3 separate regions of the Homo sapiens genome follow, and all the other regions are linked to region 1. Evidence: promoter capture Hi-C in 16 types of primary human blood cells and fetal thymus (Javierre and others, 2016). All regions are on one chromosome and are shown on one strand. Each heading gives the region's core, a stretch centred on a gene start or on the middle of the fragment in contact. The rest is flanking DNA. Distances are from core to core; before and after follow the strand shown.

Region 1 (3,752 bases), core at 316-2,815:
TCATGCAGTATTATAATGTGCCTGTGTAACAAGCCTGCCCCAGTCCCAAAGGGCAGAGACTGTGTCTCATTCATATTTGTATTCCCAGTGCCCAACACCATGCCTGCCTCATAAAAACTACCCTGAATGAATGTGCAAACTCCCAGGTCTAACACCTCCTGGTGACAGAGATCACTTCTACCTTGCAGTGTGTCACCATGCCTCCCAGGGGGTTCTGCCCAGCCAAGTTAGGCAAGCTTTAGTCCCAAGCCTTCAGATGAATTGGTCCACGGAGGAAGTCTGGAGAGCAGGGACTTTTCAATTTTCAAAACCTTATAAGAATTTCTGCTGTCTTGCCTGCCAGAATCTTTCTTTGGCTCCCAGCAACATAAGCTGCATGCCTCCAACTGACAAGCGACAGGCCAGTTGGTCAGCTGTTGCTTCCATTTACTCAGAGCTGGGCGGCTGTACTGTTTCTGTCACTAAATCAAGGGATCCTTGGGACGGATGTGCTTGGGCGTTAAGGCAGCCTGAGGACCTAGTCTCCGGAAGCTTCTGTGAAGTGTGACTGGGCTGCCCTGCCTGGCACGGTGACTTGAATCTTCAGTTTGCCAATTCTCTAAGAGCCCCAACCCCCCATCCCCAGATCTCTACCCCCAGAGTGGAAGTGATTGCAGCAACTCTTGCAGTAGAATTGGGGGCAGCAGCAGGGGAGGAGAGAAGAGGCTATTAGCAAATCAAAGGAAAGAAAACAGGGGAAGGAAAACACAGTAGCAAATTAAAGCACTATGTTTTCTTTTTAAAAATCCAATTAAAGGGAAATCTGCTTTTGAGTAAAACAATCATGCCCTTGTTACAAAGTATCCCAGGAACCCTCAAGATAGGCAAAACCTTTTTAATCACATTTTTTCTCATTACAAGTTGGCTAATAGGAACATCATAGTAATTCCCCGTTAACTCTTCCACTTTTCACACCCGCACAAACACACTGGGTTATAACAATGCTCTTATTCTATCTTTGTCTCAGACACATTCTCAAGCATGTTGGTTTACTCTCTCCTTAGAATATCCCCGTATCCTCATTCTGATATGCAAACGTATCCTCACCTACAGACCATTCTTTCCTCCTCTCCTCTCTCATGCACGCGTGCACACACACGCTGAAACGCTATATACACACTATATATGCATATAAACATATATGTTCTCCTTTTAATTCAATACTAATCCAGTCATTCGTATTTCCCAATTTCTTCTCAGTCTCTCATACAGGTCCACGCAGTGAAGCCCAAGGGAGATACTTACCTCCATAGCCTGCGGGAAACTTCATGAAGTGAGAATAATTTCCATACATGTTTACTCGTCAGTTCATGTTCCTCTCCTGTGCAGCTTCTAAATATTACCGCCTCTCTCGGCTCCCAGGCACAGCCCGGCTTTCTTCAACTTGGGCTAACAAGAGTGGTCATCGCTTCCTAGCAGCCCGGGGAGCACAGGCTGGGCCAGCCCTCTGGGATTAGTCAGGAATCTGCCTCTAGATCGGAGAGTCCACATAGTGCGTTTGAGACGGCTGTGGCGGCAGCAGCTGGTGCCTGTCAGTAATCACGCATAATGCTGCCGCCGCCGCCGCCGCCGCCGTCACCGCTACTCTTGCCACCGCCGTCGCTGCTGCTTGAGATCCTGTTGCTAGTTTGATTAACTCAGGGTTGGGCTGCTGCGTGCGACTCTTCCAGCTCCCGGCGCGTCCCCAGAGGTCCCTACCGGGTGGCACGATCTATTATCTAGGAAGCCAATCGATGTATGACCGCCCGGTGTAGGTCAGGAGAGAGGCGGGAGACGGCAGGGGATGGAAGACTCTTTAGGTGCCTGTTCCTTGACTTACATCCACAAAAATCAATGGGATTTTATTAAAATGCATTTTCTCATTCGAACTTCTATCTGTCCAATGTACTTGGTATTTGATCTGTGAAAGGAGGAGGGGGTGGGGTTCAAGAGAGAACAGGGCCCTTTCAGAAGCACAAGATTAGAAAAGCGTGATACTCAATCTCCAGCTACGGAAAACTAAAATAGAGTAGCCCTTAAGTTGAGGTGGGCCTCTCCTGCTTGGGTGGCCGGAAGCATTTATCTGTGCTCTAACAATGGGAGTTTGACAAGTGCAGCTGGAGCCAGAGCTCACTCAGGTGGAAAACTTACAGGTAGGGAGGAGGGGTTGGCTTGATGTGGAGGTCTTTCTCTGCATTTATTTTATATACCATTGTTATCCTGCCGCCTGTTCAAAAACACCACTGGGTCCTCACTAACACAGAGCCTGTCTTGTGTGGAACTGACCCGAGATCAAAGAATCTAAGCACCCCGTTGATGTTTGGGTCTGTCATACAGTTTTCGTGACAAGTCACCGCTCAGCCTATACTTGAACACCTCCAATAATGGGGAGCTCACCACTTTCTCATTCCATTTCTAGATAGTTTTCACCACAAGAAAGTTTCTTATAGAGATAAAATCTGCTCCTTTTCCCTACAGCTTCTGCCCACAGGTGCTAGACTGCTCCCAGGGGCCACACAAGAGAAGCCTGAAAGACAAAAAAGTCTTTCACAGTGGGATCCTCTGCAAATCCTGAGATTGATCTGCTGTGCCCATAATCCCCCTTTCCCTAGGCATCTCTGGCTCTTTCAGTAATTCTATGTATCACCAAGGGTTCATGTCTATTCCCAACCTATCCTTTTTCTAATAATGTACTTCAGTTTACATAGATACCCTCACAGTGAGGAAGGGGGTTGGCCAGACTTGGATGCAATACTCCAGATATGGTCCAAACCTTTTCCTCATGGTATATGTGTTGGCACGGTGATGGGGTGCTGTCAACATACCCATTGAAGGTCCGTTTCATGGGCTGAGCTCTGTTGGGCTGGAAAAAAGATAAGAGATTTTCTCCTGATGCAGCATAAGACATAGAGAGCCAGAGAGGTAAGTCAAATCAGGGTCCCAGAGTAAAAAATCAAGATTCAAATGCTAGGAGAAGCCAAAACAAAAACGTAGAATAAAAGACCAGAGTCAGGAACAAAGTCATGATGACAAAGGAGGAGGCCAAAATGGGGAATCAAAGCAAAAGCATGTCACAAAGGAGGAAGAAATATCCAGGCCTTCACTGTAAAGAGCTTTGGAGAGCCCAGAGCTGCCTTGACTGTTGCTGGGATGAGAGTCCAGTGGACATAAGTAATATAGAATACAGGAGGACCATTTGCTCACTTGCATTAGGTGGGCAGCTCTGCATGTTAATTCATGTAGAACTAACTCGATAAAAATCTCCCCACCCCTACCTCCCCTAAGTTGTGTTCTCTTATGCATATTCTTCATCCCATCCTTGGGCAATTGGTTTTGGGACCTACATGAAATGCTTCCTATATTCCTCTGAAGTTAAAACTTTTTGGCTTCATTCATCATCCCAAATCTTTTAGGATCCTGCTTCTGTTGTCCAAAATATTTCTTATTCATACCCTTATTTCATGACTTCTGAAAATCTGATGAACTGCTTTTTCATATCTTATTCGACTCATTGATAAAAATGTTGACATAGACATAGCAAAGACAACATCTTATATCACTAAAAAGTCCATTCATTAGTGCCTTAGACACTTTGCTCTGCTACTCACTAGTTATATGGCCTTGAAAGGCTATATGTATAGTAAAAGCACCAACTCACCAACTCACAAGCCAACATTGCTGGGTACAAATCCCTGTTCCGCTGCTTACAGCCTCATGATACTGGCAAATGAGTA
Region 2 (3,862 bases), core at 1,208-3,707, 80 kb after region 1:
TATTATGGTAAACAGTGAAGGTTTTTAAGCAGTAGAGTGACATAATCAGATTCAAATTCTTAAATCCTAATTCATAATGATCACTCTGCCTGCTAAGTAGGGAGTAGATTGTGTGCAATGTCTTAGAAGCCAAAACAAATTTTTGGATAGAGTCTTCAGCTATGGACTCTTCTCTTCCATATTCCTTTACCTATTATATATCTCCTAGTCTCCCTGGAAAACTTACCTGTGCTATGGTCCATTCCTTTGGATCTTGCTAAATGTTTATAAATATCCTTCACACAGCTGAACTGTGTTTTCCAGACTCCCTTGCTGTTAGATGTGGCCACGTGCCTGAGTTCTGGGCAATATGAATAAGAAATAAACTTTTATTACTCTATATCACTAAGATTTAGGAGTACATAGTTACAGCAGCTCACCTACTCTTACAAATAGACCTAGTAACTACCTAATTAACAAGTAAAGTAAATTTCACATGGCTAGTGAATTCCTTGGATTAATATATTATTACGTGAAAATGTTATATCTTATAGGGGCACTAAGAAATTCATAAATAGATTAAGAAAACCTAAGTAAAAGTTTGTGTATTCTCCAACTCACACAAAATCAAGGGCCACACACTTTATTTTACCAGTCTACCTTTAGGAAGTTTCTGACAAAATCCTTGGGATTTATCATCTTAATTAAGCATGGTATGGTACAATGGAAATTTCCTTACATTTGCAATAGGGAGACTAGCATTATTCTTTCTGAAATGTTACTGACCAGCCATGTGGCCTTAGAAGAAAATCTTTTTTATTTTTTTAGACATGAAATCTCACTCTGTCACTCAGGCTGGAGCACAGTGGTGTGATCATAGCTCACTGCAGCCTTGAACTCCTGGACTCAAGTGATACTCCCACCTCAGCCTCCCAAGTAGCTGAGACTACAGCCATGCATCACCATGCCCAGCTAATTTGCTTTTATTTTTTTAGAGATGGAGGTCTCACTATGTTGTCCTGGGCTAAGGCAGTTCCCTCCACCTCAGCCACCCAAATAGCTGGGATCACAGGTGCAAGCCACCACACCCAGCAATTTCTTATTACTTTGGTTTCCTTTTTTTTTTAATCTGCGAAAGAGGGAATAATATTAATACCAATTTTCATGGGTAAAGGATTATACCATGAAGATTAAACAAGGCAATATCTGTATGGTAAATTGCTATAATTGTACTAATTATTTTCTCTTCCCTGTATCTACACCCTTTGCCAGGTGAAATTTCTCTATCAAAAGGAATGGAGTACATTTCCCCACACCTTGGCACGGAATTCATGTGACTTGCTTTGGCCATTATATGAGACCTTGCAATGTTTGCTTGCTTTCTTGTGCCTCTTCTATCTTTTCTTTCATTACCATGAGAACATGCCTAGGTTAGCTTCATGAAAGATAAAAGGCACATGGATCAGAGCTGAGTCCCCCAGGTCATCTGATAGCTCAGATCAATTGACAGCCCCAAACCCCCAAGTATGTGAATAAGCCTAGCCAAAATCAGCAGAGTCATGTAGCAAACCTCTAGACTTACGAGCAATAAACCCATATTGTTGTATGCCCCTGTGATTTCATAGTTGTTTGTTACACAGCATTATTTTGACAACAGATAACCAATAGTCTGGGAGATTAGGCTCCCACAAACTGTAAAGTATTACACAAATGTAAACTATTAAAGCTTAAGGATGGCAGAAAAATATATATGTATCCAAGGGCTCCCTTGGTCTATGAGATATTAGAGCCTATACAAAATCTCATTAAATCCTGTTTCAGAGAGTCATGGGATCCCAGTTCGTGTTGGACAGGACATTAGAGAAGATCCAGTCTTATCATTCTACTTGTGTATGAAAACTATTCTCTTCTCAGTAACATAGATTCTCTTTTGTCTGTACCAACAGACTTGTTCCTTCTAGCACTTCTATGCTCTAACAGTTACAAAAGACATCATCTTTAAATCCTGCCGTCTCTCTAGCAATCCCTGTGCACACAACCCAGGAAGCTGGGTCTGGTTCCATCCCGCTCATTTGGCCACTTCTCTGTGTTGACATCTGTCAGTTATGCTCTGATCATGCTGCAATTTGCAATTTTTCCAGATGCTTTCAACATGCGGCCACTTTGACAAGCTAAAAGCTGCTAATGCTGCATCATTTATCACATTTTCCCATGTATTACATTAATCTTAAAGACCCAGCTTAATGCACACAAGGACATCCTCCCTGAATACAGAAGGGCTAGTCTACAAGTTTCATAAAATAAGCATCCTCCCAGATCTCCAAAGGAATAAAAAGCCACAAGAATAAATTGGAAGAGAAACCAGGCAAGCTGTTTTGTATTTTCCAAAGGAATGAGGAAATTATTTAGCCTGATTTCTCTTTCAGGCATCTCACACATTGTTATTGCTGAACAAATACTTATTATTCTCTGAACAATGAGGTAATTCGAGATGGACCTTTTCTTCCCTAAAAGGAATACGGAGTCTTTCCAGGTCCCATTTCTGCATCCTGGATGGTATCTTCACCTTAGCTGCTGAAGGATCCTTTTTTCTCTAACCTAGAATAAGGCAGGAGGCAGAGTGCCTGTCTAGAAAAGTGACAAATCAGACATGACATACATATAGACCCATTACTTCTGTCATATTTCTCCTCTTAACTTTTCTCAGCAATTAAGGTTTCCATGAGCCTCCCACTCCTTTTCAAATCCTGCTCGTGAGGCAGTTGTAATTAAATCTCCTTAATTTCCCAGTGCTGCTTCTTCATAAAATAACTTTATCTTAGAAAAGTTTCCCTTCTAAATTTCCCCAAACACTCTTTCCTAACTAGGGCTGTGACGGAAAAAAATCTTTTCCTTCCTTTCTTCTAAGTCTAAATTCAAGTCAAGCACTACCTCTTGCAGGAAGCCTTCCCTGACAACCTAACCCAGCCTCATTTCCAGGCCCTTTCTCTGGACTCCCATAGCTTCTTATACACAACTCTATTATAATATTTACCACACTGTCTTGTAATCATCAGTGCCCTATTGTCTCCCACACTCAGCTTGTGCAAACAGAACAGGCCATGCCTCAATGGACTTTGCATCCATGGAGCCAGTTTTGCCAGTAGAATACGAGAGGAGAAACACTGACCAGTTACTTATCCACCCTCACAACAACTATTTTGTTTCCCTTGAGAGTGCTGTCAATGTGCTAAGCTTAATTAGGACACAGCCTTTGTTCCTACCTTGTTAGCATCACAAAAAGAATAAGATGTCATGATTTACCTGGTGATGAGCTTCATGGAATCTTCTGAAATCGTCAAATAACGTATCAAGTAATCTTTGAGCACCTGACATGGGGCCAGATTTGTACTAACCACCACAGTGGGAAGGGAGCAGTAAGAAGGATATAAAACTAGGTTTCAGATCATAAGAAATACATTATCTCGTTAGAGATTTAAACATATGTGTGTAAAACACTAACTTTACATCACAGTATATAAGTGTTATTTGAGTCACATAGACAATCATAGCTAGTTAAAGAATTCAGGCCGGGCGCAGTGGCTCACGCCTGTAATCCCAGCACTTTGGGAGGCCGAGGAGGGTGGATCACGAGGTCAGGAGATCGAGACCATCCTGGCCAACATGGTGAAACCCCGTCTCTACTAAAAATACAAAAATTAGCAGGGCCTGGGGGCGGGCGCCTGTAGTCCCAGCTACTTGGGAGGCTGAGGCGGGAGAATGGCGTGAACCCGGGAGGCGGAGCTTGCAGTGAGCCGAGATCGCGCACTGCACTCCAGCCTGGGTGACAGAGCGAGACTCCCTCTCAAAATAACTAAATAAATAAATAATAAAATAAAAAGAA
Region 3 (3,834 bases), core at 526-3,025, 120 kb after region 1:
ATGTCGATGCTGCTGGCCCACAGACCACACTTGGAGCACTGAGGGTGCAGATGGTCCCTCCTGATCCCCTTTGGCCTTAGGACGCTGGGAGTCACGCTGTTTCAGCACCCTGCCTGCTGTGTTTTTCTTCTTAGATGATCTAAATGCCACATGTGTGGAGCCCACAGAGCTGACAGGGTGGCCCATCACCCGGGTGGGGAACCCACTCCGATACATGTGCATCACGCACCTGGACCACAAAGACTACATCTTCCTGCTGCTCATCGGCTTCTGCATCTTCGCCGCGGGAACTGTGGCTGCCTGGCTCACAGGTGTGTGTGCTGTGCTCTACCAGAACACCCGCCACAAGTCGAGTGAAGAAGATGAGGACGAGGCCGGGACTAGGGTGGAAGTCAGCCGGCGGATTTTTCAAACCCAGACGAGCTCGGTCCAGGAGTTCCCTCAGCTTATTTAGTTGCCAGAGACCACTATCTTATGTGCCTCCCCCAGGCTCCCTGCTTTCTCTCTTGCCCTCCCCATCCCACCACCTTGGAGCTGTCATAGAGATTGAAACCTTCTAGTAAAATAAATAAAATCTCTGATGGCCATTTCACAGGTTGGTCCCTTCCCACTGCACCAGCCCGAGGATGATTCCTTGAGCTCAGCAGGATGGGGTAGAACAAAATCTAGAAACGTTGTTGGATGCACCTAAATACCGAGAAAGTCTACCCCAAAAGTAAGCCATCTCATGTTTAATAAGTACATATTATGTCCCCAAACTAAGTGCTGGAGGGATGGATACAAGGAATACAAGATTTAAGATCTTCCCTAAAGAGCAAACAATTTAAGTGGAAGTGAAGATTAATATTAATCAAATGGAGAAAAGTATAAGACAATGATAAGAACTAACATTAATGGAATGTGTCCATCCATGTACCATCTTCACACTCCATCTTGTAGTTATCACAGCCATCCTATAATATTGATATTATTTTACCGTGAAAATTTGAGGCCTGAACAAGTTAAACAACTGATTGAGGTCACCCAACTGGTAAGTAACACAGCCTCCCAAAGTCCATGTTCTTTCCTTTACATGAAATATAAATATTTAGCAGCACAACCAAGGGTTCATCATGTAAGCCTGGCCACACAAAGGTGGCCACCACCCAGCGGGTCCATCCCAAGTACCCAGCATTGTGCCCAGCTTTATGCACATTTCCCCCTGGGCTAATGTGCGTGACAACAAGGTCAGGTGGTCATTGTCACCATCGTTTTCCTGAGGCATGGAGAGATGAAGTCACCAGCTCAAGATCACATAGTTGGTAAGAGCAGAGCAACTGCTGGACCCATGCCAAAGTCCATGCCCTCTCACTACAAGCTACTGTTTATCACTGAGCACTAAACAGAATAGCCAAGTGTACACAAGCATGTCCTGCGCTCAGGGACATGTGGCAAAGGGAGTGAAGAGAGGGTTGGCTCAACCCAGGCCCCAAGACCCATTCCAGGTTTTCCTTTTTGCTCTACTCAGATCAAATTATACTCATGTTCAAGACTCAGATCAAACCCCCACCCATGAAACTAGCTGTCTCTAAACCCCCAACCAGACCCGTTTTTACATCTGCACTTCCACTGTGAATTGCATGTGACTCTAATCACCACTTGCCCTCCAGTTTGTTTGGTGCAATGCTTAAGAGCATGGGTCCAGACTCAGGAGCTGGATCTCTATCCCCAGTTCTGCACTTAGCACTGTGTGAACTTGGGCTTCCTACTTATAATGACCTTGAGAGCAGAGACCATTTGCCTTCAGTGTTCTCTATTGACACAGCATATAGAGTGATAACTTCCACAAAATAAGTGTTTATTACTGCATTCTATTTAAATCCCAACCCACCAATCATTCCTACTTTGTTATCCTGAACTAAGAGTGACCATGGGCAAGTTATTTAACTTTTGTGTGTCTCAGTTTCTTCATCTGTAAGTGGCAATCACTGCAGTGCTTATATAGGGATATTTTGAGAATACAATGAATATCAATTATAATAAGAATTTATTTTAATACACTTTTTATTATGGAATAACTTTGGACTAAGCTACAGAGGTAGCACAGAGTTCCCACATACCTCTCACCCAGTTCCCCCTAACGTTATCTCACATTACAGTGGTACATTTATCAAAGCTGAAAAATTTATATTGGAACACTATTATTAACTAAACTCCACACTTTATTGGTATTTCATTAGTTTTTTTTTCCACAATGCCCTTTTCTCTGTTCCAAGACCCAATCTAGGATACCACGTTTGCATTTAGGATATTTTTAATATAATAACACGTCTAACTTTATTGGGCACTTCTATATGCTAGGCATTGTTCTAAGTGCATATACATACACACAAACACATACACATACACACACAAACACACACATCTCAACTAATTGAATCATCACAACAATCCTATGAGGTAAGCATTATTCCCATCAGATCCTGAAACTGAGGTTTAAGAGGGTAAGTAACTTGCTAAACATTACACATCTAGTACAACCAGAAGTGAAACCAGCTGTGGCTGACTATAGACTGTTTCCTCCAAATCACTAATCAATATTGTCTCTCAGGAATTTAAACTACCAAGAAAGTCTTGGCAAAAGAAATGTGAATTGCAGCTTTTCATGATAGCTTCTCCCCTAAGATTTCGCCTGGATCTTCCAACAATAAGTAATTCCACAAAAATGGGCTGAGCACCTACTCTGACAAGGCCTGGGAAGATCACAGTGAACGTGGCAAAGTGGTGAAAGCTCAAGGAGCTTCCAGTTCAGTTTGGTGGAGAAACAAGAAAAAAGTCCATTTCAAGACAGAGTGGTAAGTGAAGGGCCGGCACAGTATTCTAAGGGGACCCAAAGGAAGGGCGCCTCAACCAGGAGGCAGTAGGGCATCCTGGAGGGCTTCTCAGAGGAAGAGGCATCTACACTGAGGCTTGAAAGTTGAGTTGAGATTCACCAGACAAAGTGGTAAAGTGGATGTGGGTGACAAAAAGACATCCTAAGCAACAAGAACTGCATCTACAAAGGCCTGGAAGTGAGGAAGAGCCTGGCATGCCATTATAACTGGAATATAGAGTATAAGGGAAGGAAGAAAAGAGAAATAATGTTAGAGAGAGAAGCAAGGCCAGATCCTGAAGGGCCTTTTATATCCCTGTGTTGGTCAGGATTATGATAGGCTATGCTACAATAACAAATTAACCCCAAAGTTTCATTGGCTTACCACAACAAAGACTAATTTGTCACTCATGTAGAGTCCCATGTGGGTAGGGAGCCCTCCCACCCTGTAGCTCCAGCACCTAGAACATGGCCTCAGAGGTCCACTCCAGAAGAGAAAAGAGAGGCCATAGGCACACAGCTTGTAACTACTGGGCCTGGAAATGACACGTGTCACTTCAACTCACATTTCACATGGTCCCAACCTTACTGAAGAGAAACATAGTCTGTGTGCCAAAAATGCTGTGGAAAACAAGGAATTGTCTCTGCCCCACCAGGATAAGATATGGGACTTGCTCATGAAGTACACTCAAGAGTTGTAAGCATGAGAACCACCAAGTCTAGTTAATTTGTATTTGAGAAAACTCACTCTGGCTGTAAGGTGAAGAAGAGACCAGAGGGAGGCATGACGGAAAATGGGGAGACTAGCAGTATTGCAGTATTCTAGCAGGGGGTGCGGGTGATAGACCAAAGGCAGTGGCTGTGGGAACAAACAGAACTGGATGAATTTGTGAGGTTATGTCAGAGGTAGAGTTGGCAGAATTTCATGAGTAACTGGATTTGGGATGTTGGGGAAGAATTAATGGAGGGAGGATTCAGAGAAA

Evidence for each region. Contacts are between HindIII fragments. The CHiCAGO score rates a contact against its expected background, and 5 or more counts as called.
Region 2: a fragment that was not itself captured here is called in contact with the fragment with the promoter of RXRG in region 1 in 1 of 17 cell types (naive CD4 T cells); the score reaches 5.1 in naive CD4 T cells.
Region 3: a fragment that was not itself captured here is called in contact with the fragment with the promoter of RXRG in region 1 in 5 of 17 cell types (naive CD4 T cells, activated CD4 T cells, non-activated CD4 T cells and 2 more); the score reaches 7.4 in naive CD4 T cells.

Annotation. Positions count from the first base shown.
Region 1 is chr1:165,443,561-165,447,312 of GRCh38, forward strand. It overlaps RXRG (retinoid X receptor gamma), which reads right to left and starts at 1,566. Exons shown (of 10, transcript NM_006917.5): 1 at 1,285-1,566. The coding sequence starts at 1,333. The HindIII fragment of the contact is 7,493 bases long and covers 530-3,752 here.
Region 2 is chr1:165,522,748-165,526,609 of GRCh38, forward strand. LRRC52-AS1 (LRRC52 antisense RNA 1) reads right to left here. Exons shown (of 7, transcript NR_026744.2): 4 at 227-340. Among named protein-coding and RNA genes, the nearest start is that of LRRC52, 19 kb to the right of the region's middle. The HindIII fragment of the contact is 1,508 bases long and covers 1,704-3,211 here.
Region 3 is chr1:165,563,371-165,567,204 of GRCh38, forward strand. It overlaps LRRC52 (leucine rich repeat containing 52), which reads left to right. Exons shown (of 2, transcript NM_001005214.4): 2 at 135-587. The coding sequence ends at 454. The region is part of intron 3 of LRRC52-AS1 (LRRC52 antisense RNA 1); the gene reads right to left. Among named protein-coding and RNA genes, the nearest start is that of LRRC52-AS1, 17 kb to the right of the region's middle. The HindIII fragment of the contact is 6,812 bases long and covers 1-3,834 here.